2 separate regions of the Homo sapiens genome follow, and region 2 is linked to region 1. The links are contacts of gene promoters, found by promoter capture Hi-C in blood cells and fetal thymus (Javierre and others, 2016). All regions are on one chromosome and are shown on one strand. The core of a region is centred on a gene start or on the middle of the fragment in contact, and the rest is flanking DNA. Distances in the headings are between cores, read along the strand shown.

Evidence for each region. Contacts are between HindIII fragments. The CHiCAGO score rates a contact against its expected background, and 5 or more counts as called.
Region 2: a contact is called between a fragment that was not itself captured here and the fragment with the promoter of TPI1 in region 1, in 1 of 17 cell types (fetal thymus). The highest score is 6.6, in fetal thymus.

What each region holds. Positions count from the first base shown.
Region 1 is chr12:6,865,183-6,872,041 of GRCh38, forward strand. It overlaps TPI1 (triosephosphate isomerase 1), which reads left to right and starts at 2,349. Exons shown (of 7, transcript NM_000365.6): 1 at 2,349-2,499; 2 at 3,682-3,805; 3 at 3,917-4,001; 4 at 4,076-4,208; 5 at 4,506-4,591; 6 at 4,867-4,954; 7 at 5,083-5,766. The coding sequence starts at 2,385. The coding sequence ends at 5,201. USP5 (ubiquitin specific peptidase 5) reads left to right here. Exons shown (of 20, transcript NM_001098536.2): 19 at 1-66; 20 at 802-1,450. The coding sequence ends at 895. It overlaps SPSB2 (splA/ryanodine receptor domain and SOCS box containing 2), which reads right to left. Exons shown (of 3, transcript NM_032641.4): 3 at 5,753-6,137. The coding sequence ends at 6,010. RefSeq lists enhancers at 602-1,264, 1,265-1,926, 5,539-6,124 and silencers at 2,196-2,245, 2,516-2,955, 6,781-6,859. The HindIII fragment of the contact is 21,039 bases long and covers 1-6,859 here.
Region 2 is chr12:7,633,747-7,640,600 of GRCh38, forward strand. No RefSeq gene overlaps it. Among named protein-coding and RNA genes, the nearest start is that of APOBEC1, 29 kb to the right of the region's middle. RefSeq lists an enhancer at 4,100-4,634 and silencers at 5,076-5,205, 6,287-6,386. The HindIII fragment of the contact is 340 bases long and covers 4,346-4,685 here.

The DNA of each region.
Region 1 (6,859 bases), core at 1,099-3,598:
CATTAGTCACATGGGCACCTCTACCATGTGTGGTCACTACGTCTGCCACATCAAGAAAGAAGGCAGGTGAGTGCTGGCCACATGCGTTTTGAATGGAGAATGGTGGTGGGAATGAGGAGGGCCATTTGGAAGTCCTTGGGATAGCTATGGGAGAAGGTGAAGGGACTGCCTGATGGGGACATAAAGTGCCAGAGAGTGACAGAAGGTCTTGCAGCAGTGATTGGCCCAAGGGTTGGATCTGGCCACCAGCTTTTTTTTTAAATAGAGATGGGATCTCACTATGTTGCCCAGGCTGGTCTTGAACTCCTGAGCTCAAGTGATCCTTCTGCCTCGGCCTCCCAAAGTGCTAGGATTACAGGCATGAGCTACCGTGCCTGGCCAGGCCCCCTGCCTTTGTAAATAAATTTTCACTGGAACCTGGACACACTTGTTTATGTGTTGTTTGTGCCTGTTTTCACGCTGCGGCAGGAAAGTTGAGTCGTTGTGTCAGAGACCAGAGAGAGAGCCTGCAGAACCTCAAATACTATCTGGCCCTTGCCAGAAAAAGTTTACCAACCCCCTGCCTCCCTGGAATGGGTGGAGGGTGGTTGTAAAGGTACTGGAGGATCTGAAGACATAATAGGGTCCGTGACCCTTGTGAGGTTGTGAAGCTCCCTTAAGGCACATGGTGGCTGGGCTGTGGATTTGGGGTATGGGCAGAGAGTGTGGAGAGCACTTCCAGGGGCCATGTCTGAGAGACTACATGATGCCACTTTGAATGCCCAGTTTGTTCATCCTTTTCTGTTTTCCCCACTTCCCCAGATGGGTGATCTACAATGACCAGAAAGTGTGTGCCTCCGAGAAGCCGCCCAAGGACCTGGGCTACATCTACTTCTACCAGAGAGTGGCCAGCTAAGAGCCTGCCTCACCCCTTACCAATGAGGGCAGGGGAAGACCACCTGGCATGAGGGAGAGGGGCTGAGGGATGGACTTCAGCCCCTCTGCTCTGTACCCTTTTTCCTTTTGTCCCCGGCAGCAGGGAAGAAGCTGGAGGCCGTGGGAGAATGGCTGGGCAGAGCAGAGGGGCAGCGATAGACTCTGGGGATGGAGCAGGACGGGGACGGGAGGGGCCGGCCACCTGTCTGTAAGGAGACTTTGTTGCTTCCCCTGCCCCCGGAATCCACAGTGCTCTGCTTCTCTGTGTCGCCCCGCCCAGCCCCCTGGTGTGGAGGGAGGGGTCTCGTTTGTGCGCGTGGGTGTAGCTTTGTGCATCCTCTCCCAGTGGAGCGATCACCTGTGCCTCCCCTCCCCCTTTGTTTGCCCCTGTGTGGTTGGTCAAGGAGGGATGTGAGGGAAATAGGGACCCCCCGACTTGCCCTCCTGCCTCAGTCTTTCCCCCACCCTGTCTCTTCCTTGTCCTTCTCTGGAAAATGCCAAAATACACGATGTGAATAAAAGTACAACGGCTAAATTGTGTCCTGTTTGATACCTTGGGGGAGAGGCTTACCTTCCTGGGGTTAGCAGGAGGGCGCTTAAGAAAACTCCTAACTCTGGCCGCCTCCCTGCCAAAGTCAAGTCTCCACTTTTCACTGGTTCTAGAGCTCTAGGAAAATTGGGGTTGGGTGGGGAGGTGGAGTAGAGTGACTAAATGCCGACACAAAGCCAAGGAAAGATGGAGTGAAGAACCCTTCCCTCTCTTTATTCACACAGGAGTGGAGGATTTCCCAAATGTCCCTAACTGGCTAGCTGGCTTCAGGCTGGGACTCAGTCCCTGCAGTTCCTGCCAGGCCTTGCCAGCCGGGGCGAGGGTTGGGATGATCCTGGCGGCCTATGCCTGTGTGGGCTGCCCCTCCCGCTGTGAACCCTGCATTTGTCCCGCAAGTTTTCACTCAGGTAGACTCCCTGGGTACAAGGGTGCCTGCTCAGCAGTCGGGCATGAGCTGCTCCGATGGGCGAAGGAGGTTGTCTATCCCACAGTTGGAGAGGGGCCCTCTCTGCCCCAGTGGGCGATCTGGGCTACGGCCAAGTTGCCACCAGCTAGTTCCGCTTGAAAACCACTTCTGGCCCCGTGGGGGACTCAAGTCGCCAAGCGAGGGTTCCCCTGAGCGCCGGAGCTCACAGGTCTCGCCTTGTCCCGAAAGCCCCGCAATCGAGGCGGAGGCGACCGAGCCCCCGACTCTCCTAGAACGTTGCCACAAGAAGGGGGAACGTCGGAACAGTGCATCATCGGGCGGCGGCCGGGGCGGCGGCAGGAGGGCGGGCGGGGGGCAGGGCTCCGGGGGACTGGGCGGGCCATGGCGGAGGACGGCGAGGAGGCGGAGTTCCACTTCGCGGCGCTCTATATAAGTGGGCAGTGGCCGCGACTGCGCGCAGACACTGACCTTCAGCGCCTCGGCTCCAGCGCCATGGCGCCCTCCAGGAAGTTCTTCGTTGGGGGAAACTGGAAGATGAACGGGCGGAAGCAGAGTCTGGGGGAGCTCATCGGCACTCTGAACGCGGCCAAGGTGCCGGCCGACACCGGTAAGCCCTCGCCGAGGAGGGGTCTGGCCGGGCCGGGGCCGGGGCCGGGGCAGGAGTGGCAGCGCCCTCTCCCGAGGCCCCGAGGCCCCGAGGCCGGTATCCGCGCGGACCTGATGCAGGGCTGTGGGACGAGGGCCGCTGGGGTCCGGGCAGGGGCCTCGCAGCCGCAGCCCCGTCGGTGCGTCGAGGGGGCAGGGCGGAGCACATGATGCCCCTTGGACTATGGGGCAGGTAAGGACGTTTTGGGTCTCCTGGAGGAAGGTGGCCCCGGGGCGCGCACTGGGGCTGTGCCCGCCAGGCGACGGGGTTAGGAGCGGAGCCCGAGGCTCTGCGGGAGACCGGGGGAGGCTGGGCCGCGTGGGCTTCCCGCTCCCTGCGCCCTGGCCTCCCGCGCCGTGCGCCGCCGCACGTAGCCCCAGACTCCTCCCCTTCCTCGCCGGCGTCCGCGTCCCCGCGCCGAGCTGCTCGGGCTCCCTGAGCCCCAGATCTGACCCCTTCCCTTCGGCAACCTGAACGACTCCCGCCTTCCACGGAAGGGACCGAGCCCGTGCCAAACAGGCTGAGCGATTTGGGAGTGAGGAGCCATCCTACCGCTTTCCCCAACCTGGAAACAGCAAAGCGCAAGGCCTCTGAGTCAGTTAGGTCTCTGCCACCCACGGGCAAAGGATGCTCTCCTCCATCCTCCTTCCTCCCTCCACCGAAATCGGAGAGCCGCGGGCCTGATCCAAAGAGGCATCCCCTTCTCGTTCATTCCCCAGAGGCCTCAATACAAACCCCAGGAGTTGGCCCCTCTCCTTTTGCTACAAATCCTTGCCTTGCAAAGGGGAGGTGAGGATGGGCTATTTTAGAAGGGAAGCAGGGTTGCTCCCTGGAGAATGCTGAGTCTGTGAGGTGCCTATGCCGAGAATAGCTCGAGGAAATTGGAGCCCCAGCTGTTAAAAGAGCAGAGGGCAGGGTGAGGGCCGTGGCCTCTCAGGGGTATCTGGAAGGCTCTTCGAGTTGAGTGCAGACCCAGCCTGGGCTGGAAAATGGACAAAGGTCATCTTGCTGGGGTGAAAAGGGGGAGAGCAGAACCAAGAAGAAGAGGGTGAGGGCTGGGGGGCTCCAGGGCACTGGTTAGGAATTGTGGGGAATGAAGGCTTTCTTTAGTCTCATCCCCCTGTGGTACCATCTTGTCCTCAGAGGTGGTTTGTGCTCCCCCTACTGCCTATATCGACTTCGCCCGGCAGAAGCTAGATCCCAAGATTGCTGTGGCTGCGCAGAACTGCTACAAAGTGACTAATGGGGCTTTTACTGGGGAGATCAGGTGAGATCGAGGTGGAGAGGGGTGTGTGGGACCCTTCCCTCACTTTCCTCGTTGAGGGGAAAGCCACAGGGTGGGCTCCCTGCTGAACCTTGGCTTCATCTCTTCCTTTAGCCCTGGCATGATCAAAGACTGCGGAGCCACGTGGGTGGTCCTGGGGCACTCAGAGAGAAGGCATGTCTTTGGGGAGTCAGATGAGGTTAGTAGCCAAGAGAGAAGATAAGGGATGTCTTTTTCCAAGAAGGATGTCTCACCAAGTCTGTTTCTCAACAGCTGATTGGGCAGAAAGTGGCCCATGCTCTGGCAGAGGGACTCGGAGTAATCGCCTGCATTGGGGAGAAGCTAGATGAAAGGGAAGCTGGCATCACTGAGAAGGTTGTTTTCGAGCAGACAAAGGTCATCGCAGGTATCTCTGGAGAAAGGGACCTTTGAGCCTATCCAGGGCCACAGAGACTCAGAGGGTAGGGTCAGGCCCTGGAGCCTGTCTTGGTCCCCATGCTGATCCAGAAAAGGAAAAAGGGGAGGGGGAGTGACAATCTTTGCTTGGGGCCTATGACTTCTCCAGCCCCAAGGTAGATGCCACCTGGAAATCCCCCAATGTCCACTAGGGGGCAGTAGGCCACCGTTCTTCGTACTCCGGAGAACCTGGCTGGAGAGCTCTTTCTTGTTCACCCTTCCCTCCATCTGTATCTCTGCCCTGCAGATAACGTGAAGGACTGGAGCAAGGTCGTCCTGGCCTATGAGCCTGTGTGGGCCATTGGTACTGGCAAGACTGCAACACCCCAACAGGTAACCGGGCCCAGGAGCCCTGCCCTCATCCCAGCCTGCCTCAATAGGTTTGGACAGACACAGCCCACATGGGGCAACCCCTTATTTCAAAGACACAGAGACCTTGAACCCAGAGACAGTGACTTGTCCAAGGGCATCCAGTCCAGGGCCTGGCTTGGATCAGAGCCCTGGTACTCTGACTCAGTCAGAAACCACACTAAGTGTCCACTGGTGCCAGTGATTTTTCCTCTTAGAGAGGCAGAAAAGGTCTTACTTAGGCCAGCTTCTTGTTCTAGGCCCAGGAAGTACACGAGAAGCTCCGAGGATGGCTGAAGTCCAACGTCTCTGATGCGGTGGCTCAGAGCACCCGTATCATTTATGGAGGTGAGTGGCTTTGGTTCCCGGCTGAGGTGGAGTGGGCTGAGGACTAGACTGAGCCCTCGGACATGGAGGTGGGGATGGGGCAGACTCATCCCATTCTTGACCAAGCCCTTGTTCTGCTCCCTTCCCAGGCTCTGTGACTGGGGCAACCTGCAAGGAGCTGGCCAGCCAGCCTGATGTGGATGGCTTCCTTGTGGGTGGTGCTTCCCTCAAGCCCGAATTCGTGGACATCATCAATGCCAAACAATGAGCCCCATCCATCTTCCCTACCCTTCCTGCCAAGCCAGGGACTAAGCAGCCCAGAAGCCCAGTAACTGCCCTTTCCCTGCATATGCTTCTGATGGTGTCATCTGCTCCTTCCTGTGGCCTCATCCAAACTGTATCTTCCTTTACTGTTTATATCTTCACCCTGTAATGGTTGGGACCAGGCCAATCCCTTCTCCACTTACTATAATGGTTGGAACTAAACGTCACCAAGGTGGCTTCTCCTTGGCTGAGAGATGGAAGGCGTGGTGGGATTTGCTCCTGGGTTCCCTAGGCCCTAGTGAGGGCAGAAGAGAAACCATCCTCTCCCTTCTTACACCGTGAGGCCAAGATCCCCTCAGAAGGCAGGAGTGCTGCCCTCTCCCATGGTGCCCGTGCCTCTGTGCTGTGTATGTGAACCACCCATGTGAGGGAATAAACCTGGCACTAGGTCTTGTGGTTTGTCTGCCTTCACTGGACTTGCCCAGATAATCTTCCTTTTTGAGGCAGCTATATAAATGATCATTTGTGCAAGAAAAAAAAAAAAACAAGAACAGGTTTCTATAACAACATCTCTTACTATTTTTACTTGAAAAAATGTTTTGCGTAGCAGACTGTCATAGCCTTGAACGCCGGCTCCCTTTCTTCCTCCCTCCAAGTGGCTCTGGGGCTGTTGATTTCCGCAGAGCTTGGGTTGGGGTAGGGGCTCAGCCTCACCAGCTTTCAGCAGCTGGTCTAGGCCAGCAGTGCCTCCCCACCTCCCCAAGGGGAGGGGTGGTGGCAAGACCTCAGCACAGTCTGTGGTATCACAGGGCTCACTGGTAGAGCAGGTAGCGCTTCATGGCAGGGGGCAAGGGCAGGGCAGACACCTGGCCGAGCCGGGTATCCCCCAGGTTGTGGCGCACACACAGGCGGCTCAGGTGCAGAAGGGAGTGTGGCTCCGCTGGGAGAGAGAAGGAGGGGAATGTAAGTATGGGTGCAGCCACCAGCCAGATGTCCTCAAACTACGGGGTCCTACTCAGATGCCTTTCTGCTTTCCTGCTTCGAGTGTGCCCACCTGGCTGAAAGGGGAATTTGAGATACCCGGAAGTTCTGCCTCCCAGATAAGATTTCACACATCCCTAGTCAGAGCTGGGGGTGAAGAGCTGGCTAAGGCCCTCTAAACAACAGGCCAAGGTGGCTCTGACAGTGGTGGAGCTGGCCCAGGCTTTGACTCCAGAGGCTTGGGAGCTGGGGCTGAGGTGAGGAGGGATGGCCCTCCACTCTACAGCCCACACAACTGCAGAGAGCAGCTCCAAGCCCTGGACCCAGTCAGTTCCTGGGGAGGCTCCTCCCCTGCTGCCCCACCCTAAGGCCCTGCCTCCTCCACTGCTCTCCTCCCTGGTGCCCAGGGCCCCAGTGTCTCCATCCAGAGGTGTGGCTGAGGAAGGAAGTAGGTATGTGGCACAGAGACAGGTTAGAGCCCAGGGAATCCGGTATACAGCCTGGGTACCTGGCTCTGCCCATCCTTCTTTTGGACCTGTACATCAAACCCAGTACCTAACGCTTTGCACCTCTTGCTCAGGGGTTGATATCTCCTGAATTCTCTCATCCCTGCAGTTCCTCCCTCCATTCTGAAGGTTCACCATTTACTGGCCAAGAGAACTTGAGAAAGTTGCTTTCTCA
Region 2 (6,854 bases), core at 3,266-5,765, 770 kb after region 1:
TTAAAATCCCATATTCCCATTTAGGATATTGATTGTGATCTTATAAGCCAAGTTAGACTTAGATGACATGGAAAAGGACATATGTAGGACCTAATCGCCTTTTTTCTTTTGTAGCTTGAAAATGACAGCCTTGGTTTATTTTTATTTTTTACTGATCCATAATAGTTGTGCATATTTATAGAGCACATGTAATATTCTGATACGGGCATGTAGTATATAATCATCTAATCAAAGTAATTGCGATATCCATTAGCTCAAACATCATGTCATTTTCAGGGACATGGCTGGAGCTAGAGACCATTATTCTTAGCAAACTAATGCAGGAACAGAAAACCAAATACCATGTGTTCTCACTTATAAGTGGGAGCTAATGATGAAAACACATGTATACATAGAAAGGAACAACACACACTGAGGCCTGTTGGAGGGTGAAGGGTAGGAGGAGAGAGAGGATCAGGAAAAATAACAATGGGTACTAGGCTTAATATCTGGGTGATGAAATGATCTGTACAGCAAACCCCCATGACACAAGTTTACCCATGTAACAAACATGCACATGTACCCCTGAACTAAAAAGTTAAAAAAATTTGCTGAGCACGGTGGCACACGCCTGTAATCCCAGCACTTTGGGAGGCCAAGGCGGGTGGATCACGAGGTCAGGAGATCGAGACCATCCTGGCTAACATGGTGAAACCCCATCTCTACTAAAAATACAAAAAATTAGCTGGGCGTGGTGGCGGGCGCTTGTAGTCCCAGCTACTTGGGAGGCTGAGGCAGGAGAATGGCGTGAACACGGGGGGTGGAGTTTGCAATGAGGGGAGATCGCGCCACTGCACTCTAGCCTGGGCGAGAGAGCGAGACTCCATTTCCAAAAAAAAAAAGGTTAAAAATTTTTAAAAAAAGAAAGTCTATAGGGCCCAGACTTACCCAACATCTTTATACTTTATTGCACTGTGGCCCTATTAGACTTTCCTGTGAGTTGGATCCTGTCCAACTTCCCAAACAGATGCTGATACTTTGTGGGTTGTGTAGTTACTGATAATTCGTCATCATCTTCTCATAACTGAAAGCTCATGGAGAAATTTTGCCATCTAGTTTTGCTATAAATGGGTTTTGTTCATTGCTCCTTGGTTTTGCTGCCCTAGATGGAGATTTTTAAAGTGCACTGTACTAAAACCACCTACCTAGAATCTTCCCCATCTTCATTCTTAAAACACTTTTCTCTCCACTTGGCTTCTGGGATAAAAGTTTTCTGATTTATCTTTTATCTTATTGGCTACTGCTACTCAGCCAACTTTGCTGTTTCTTCGTCTTTGTCTTGATCTCCAGATGTTGGTAAATCCTGTGGATTGGTCTTCAATTTTCTTATGTCCACAATTCATATTCACATGTCTAAGTAAGGTCAACCATTCCTGTGACTTTAAGACAATGCATATGTAAAGCCCATTTTTTTAATCCCCAGATTTTACCTTTTCTATCAAATTCAGACATGAATAACTGTCCACTTGTATGTCTAATAAACATTTTAAAAGTTAACATAATTAAATGGAACTCTTGACTTCACTTTCAAACCACTCCTAGCCCTGTGTTCCTCATTTCAGTTAAGTGACAGTATCATTCATCTGGTTGTTCTTGCTAAAAATGTAAAAGTCATGAGTTTTCCCTTTGTAGCATACATTTATTCCATCAACAAATCCTGTCAACTAAACCTTTAATATATATCCCAAATCTTACTACTTCTCACCACTTGTATCTTTATTTCAGTAGAGATAATAGTCATATTTCCTAGTATGGATGAAAATAGTCAAACTCTATAAAATATGTGAAGAGATTTATTCTGAGCCAAATATGAGTGACCATGGCCCATGACACAGCCCTCAGGAGGTCCTGAGAACATGTGCCCAGGATGGATGGGGTACAGCTTGCTTTTATATGTTTTAGGAAGGCATGACACATCAAATACATTTAAGAAATACATTGGTTTGGTTCAGAAAGGCAGGACAACTCAAAGCAGGGGCTTCCAGGCTATAGGTAAATTTAAACATTTTCTGTATGACAGTTGGTTGAGTTTATCTGAAGAGCTGGGATCAATAGAAAGGAAATGTCCAGGCCGGGTGTGGTGGCTCACACCTGTAATCCCAGCACTTTGGGAGGCCAAGGCAGGTGGATCACCCAAGGTCAGGAGTTCGAGACCAGCCTGGCCAACATGGTGAAACCCTGTCTCTACTAAAAATACAAAAATTAGCTGGGCATGGTGGTGGGTGCCTGTAACCCCAGCTACTTGGGAGGCTGAGGCACAAGAATCTTTTGAACCCAGGAGGCGAAAGTTGCAGTGAGCCGAGATTGCGTCATTGCACTCCTGCCTGGGTGACAGAGTGAGACTCTGTCTCAAAAAAAAGAAAGGTATGTTCAAGTTAAGATAAAGAATTGTGGAGACCAAGTTTTATTGTGCAGAGGAAGCTCTCTGATAGCAGACTTCAGAGACAGCAGGTTGTAAAATGTTTCCTATCAGACCTAAAAGGGTACCTGGCTCTTAGTTGATTATCTCCTGGATCCAGAAAGGAAGAAAGGAAAACAAAGGGGAAAGGGGATTCTCTATAGAATGTGGATTTTTCCCACAAGGGACTTTGCAGGGCAATTTCAAGGTATGGCAAGAAAATATATTTTGGGGTAAAACATTTTTATTTTCTTTCTAGTTATGCCAGAGTCAGATTGGAAAGTAAGTCGTAATATACAGGATTAAATAAAACCCATCTGATGAGAATTTATGGTTTGTGGGTCATGACTCCCCATACCCCTTAATAAGGAATTTAGGCCAGATAAAAAATCAGAGCTTAGTCTTTACTAGATATCTGCTGTATTTCTAACTGGACTTCCTTACTTCACTTTTGCCCCACTATATCTGTTTTCCATACAGCAGGCAACCAGTTCTTGTTAATACATAATAAATCCTGCACTACCACAAATTTCTAAAATCCAGTTTACTCAAAAGAAAATCCAAATTTCTTTCCATGACCTATACTTCCCTACATAATCTTACCTTTGCTTGTCTCCCTGGCCCTATTTCCTACATTTTCTCACCTCATTTATTCCACTCTAACCACATTTTTTATTCCTTAAAAAATGCCAAATTTGTTTTGTTCCAATTTCAAATGCCTGCACCTTCTTCCATCTGCTTGAAATAAACTTTCTCCAGATTTTCACATGACCTGCTCATTTACTTTATTACCAGTATCCGCCCAGGTGCAGTGGCTCATGCCTGTAATCCTAGCACTTCGGGAGGCCGAGGTGGGCAGATCACAAGGTCAGGCGTGCGGGACCAGCCTGGCCAATATGGTGAAACCCCGTCTCTACTAAAAATACAAAAATTAGCCAGGCATGATGGCACGTGCCTATAATCCCAGCTACTCAGTAGGCTGAGGCAGGAGAATCGCTTGAACCCCAGAGGCAGAGGTTGCAGTGAGCCAAGATCAAGTCACTGCACTCCACTCCGGATGACAAAGAAAGACTCCATCTCAAAAAAAAAAGAAAATTACCAGTATCCTTGGCAAGTCCATCTAAAATAGGATTCACTGCTTCCAACACTCTCTAGCCTTTTACTTTGCTTTACTTTGACTTTACTTTCATTTTACTTTGCTTTACTACAACAATATCTATCATGAAGGTTGATATCAAATGATAATTTAGCTGATACAATTTTTGTTGAGCCTCCAACTGTGAATGAGAAAATAAAGCCTAAAGTTCATAGTACAGCTAATGACCATTAGATATTTTCTCTGTGAAAGTTTGCTAATCAGCTGAATAATTTTTCTCCTATAGGAATAGCAATAATTATAGTGGCTCATATAAAATATGCTCATGTATTAACATCCATCTCTACTGTAAATATATAATGAGCTTTGTGTTAGTCTGCTTGCATTACTATAAAAGAATACCTGAGGCTGGGTAATCTATAAAGAAAAGGGGTTAAGTTGACTCATAGTTCTACAGGCTGTGCATGAAGCATAGTGCCAGCATCTGCTTCTGATGAGGGCTTCAGGAAGCTTACAATCATGGTGGAAGGCAAAGGGGCGACAGTGTGCCACATGGTGAGAGTAGGAGCAAGCGAGATGCCAGACTCTTAAACAACAAGCTCTTGTGTGAACGAACAGTGAGAACTCATTACTTCAGGAGGGATCTACCCACATGACCCAAACACCTCCAAATAATACAGGAATTATTAAGAAATAACTTTTAGGCCGCTAGAAAGGGTAAAGGTTCTCAGTGGAAATTTTCCTGTAATAAGAAGCAACCCCCAAACCATTTCTTTTCTAACAGAAAGGCAGCTTGAAAAACCAGGCCGGCAAGCTTTGATATGCAAATGCTGGCGATTAGAAACTGGGTCCACCCAACATGGCCAACAGGAAGAGTGCCACCCTCTCCTCCTCATCACTACATGTGCCAAGTGTCATGATTGCCTCCAGATAACATGGATATCATGGTGACCTGCATTTGCATATTAAAGGAGTAAGGTAGGAGTGCCAGGTTTTTCACGGGCTATGTGAATGACACGCCTGGTCAAACCAATCTCCTGGGCCCTATGCAAATTAGACACCTCCTCCTCCAGCCTCCTGCTATAACAAACTACTCTGCCACACACGGGGTTTCTCTCTGGGAGCCCCCCTCCCTCTGTCCCTGTACTGGGAAGCTTCTTCCTTCTTTCTTGCTTATTAAACTCTCCACTCCTTAAAACCACTCTACATGTGTCCATGTCGCTTTATCTAAAACGATGTTAGACCAAGGACCCTGCTGTTCTTCCATTCATCAGAGCAGTTATCATTTTGGTTGCATTGACCGGGAATTCATTCATCGGAGTGGTGACTATAGAGCGAGCCCCAACCTCAAATCTCTCCTTCAATTTCAAGGCTCTCTTCTTACTATCCTGTTGCAAAATTTTCCTTCTTTCTCTATCCACGGTCTCTTACTCTCTCTCTGTGAAAAGTGCAGGGAGTTTTACAGTTCAGTGAAACAGGTCTGCTAGGAAAGATGGCAAACGCAGCAGGCAGTAACTCAACAAGCCCGCTCTCTGTGGCTGCGCTGGTGAGCATATAGTATTTCTAAGCCAACAGCGCCACCTAGTGGAAGTAGAAATCCTCTTCAGGGGCCACATTTTTTACGGTAACACTGAACTTCCTTTTGCACCACCAGAAATCAGGCTCTAACCTACTTCTGTGAACCGGAAAGTTCTGCCTTCAGCAATTAGAAGTAATATGTCCTCGACCGGGCATGGTGGCTTACGCCTGTAATCCCAACACTTTGGGAGGCCAAAGCGGGTGGATCACGAGGTCAGGAGTTCGAGACCAGCCTGGCCAATATGGTGAAACCCCGTCTCTACTAAAAACACAAAAATTAGCTGGGCGTGGTGGTGCACACCTGCGGTCCCAGCTGCTCAGGAGGCTGAGGCTATTGAATTGCTTAAAACGGGGAAGCAGAGGTTGCAGTGAGCTGAGATTACGTCACTGCACTCCAGCCTGGGTGACAGTGAGACTCTGTCTCAAAAAGAAGTAATATGTCTGCTGCCACATTTTAGTCTTGATATTGTCCCATAAGCAGGAAAATGGCCATTCTGTTCCTACGCTCTTTTAAGACATCTAATCTGTTTCCTGTTAAAATGGTATAATTAGTAGGGAGATTTTAAGTTCAGAAGTTAACCAGAACCATTTTTCTGAGGGTAAATGGTTTGGCATGGGCCATAATAGCAGGCAGTCTAGCACATTGCCTCTGTTAAAGGAGCCTTGACCAAAAACAACACAGTCTCTCCAAAGATCAATTTTTCAGGGAGCCAGGTAGATCACATAGGCTTAGGAAGTCAAAGGGAATCACACAAGGCAGATAAGCTAAGGTTGCGTGGGTAAAGTGTGGTTAATCCCATTGAGAGGTGACAGCGTGCTAGCAGTCCTCACAGCTCTCGCTCGCTCTCGGCGCCTCCTCTGCCTGGGCTCCCACTTTGGCGGCACTTGAGGAGCCCTTCAGCCCACCGCTGCACTGTGGGAGCCCCTTTCTGGGCTGGCGAAGGCCGCAGCCCGCTCCCTCAGCTTGCAGGGAGGTGTGGAGGGAGACGCGCGAGCGGGAACCGGGGCTGCGCGCGGCGCTTGCGGGCCAGCTGGAGTTCCGGGGGGGCGTGGGCTTGGCGGCCCCGCACTCGGAGCAGCCGGCCGGCCCTGCCGGCCCGGGGCAGTGAGGGGCTTAGCACCCGGGCCAGCGGCTGCGGAGGGTGTACTGGGTCCCCCAGCAGTGCCAGCCCACCGGCGCTGCGCTCGATTTCTCACCGGGCCTTAGCTGCCTTCCCGCGGGGCAGGCCTTGGGACTGCAGCCCGCCATGCCTGAGCCTTCCCCCGCCTCCGTGGGTTCCTGTGCAGCCGGAGCCTCCCCGACGAGCGCCGCCCCCTGCTCCACGGCGCCCAGTCCCATCGACCGCCCAAGGGCTGAGGAGTGCAAGCGCATGGCGTGGGACTGCAGCGCCGGTGCGGGATCCACTGGGTGAAGCCAGCTGGGCTCCTGAGTCTGGTGAGGACGTGGAGAATTTATGTTTAGCTCAGGGATTGCAAATACACCAATGGACACTCTGTATCTAGCTCAAGGTTTGTAAACACACCAATCAGCACCCTGTGTCTAGCTCAGGGTTGTGAGCGCGCCAATCGACACTCTGTATCTAGCTGCTCTGGTGGGGCCTTGGAGAACCTTTGTGTGGATACTCTGTATCTAACTAATCTGATGGGGAGGAGGAGAACCTTTGTACCTAGCTCAGGGATTGTAAACGCACCAATCAGCGCCCTGTCAAAACAGACCACTCGCCTCTACCAATCAGCAGGATG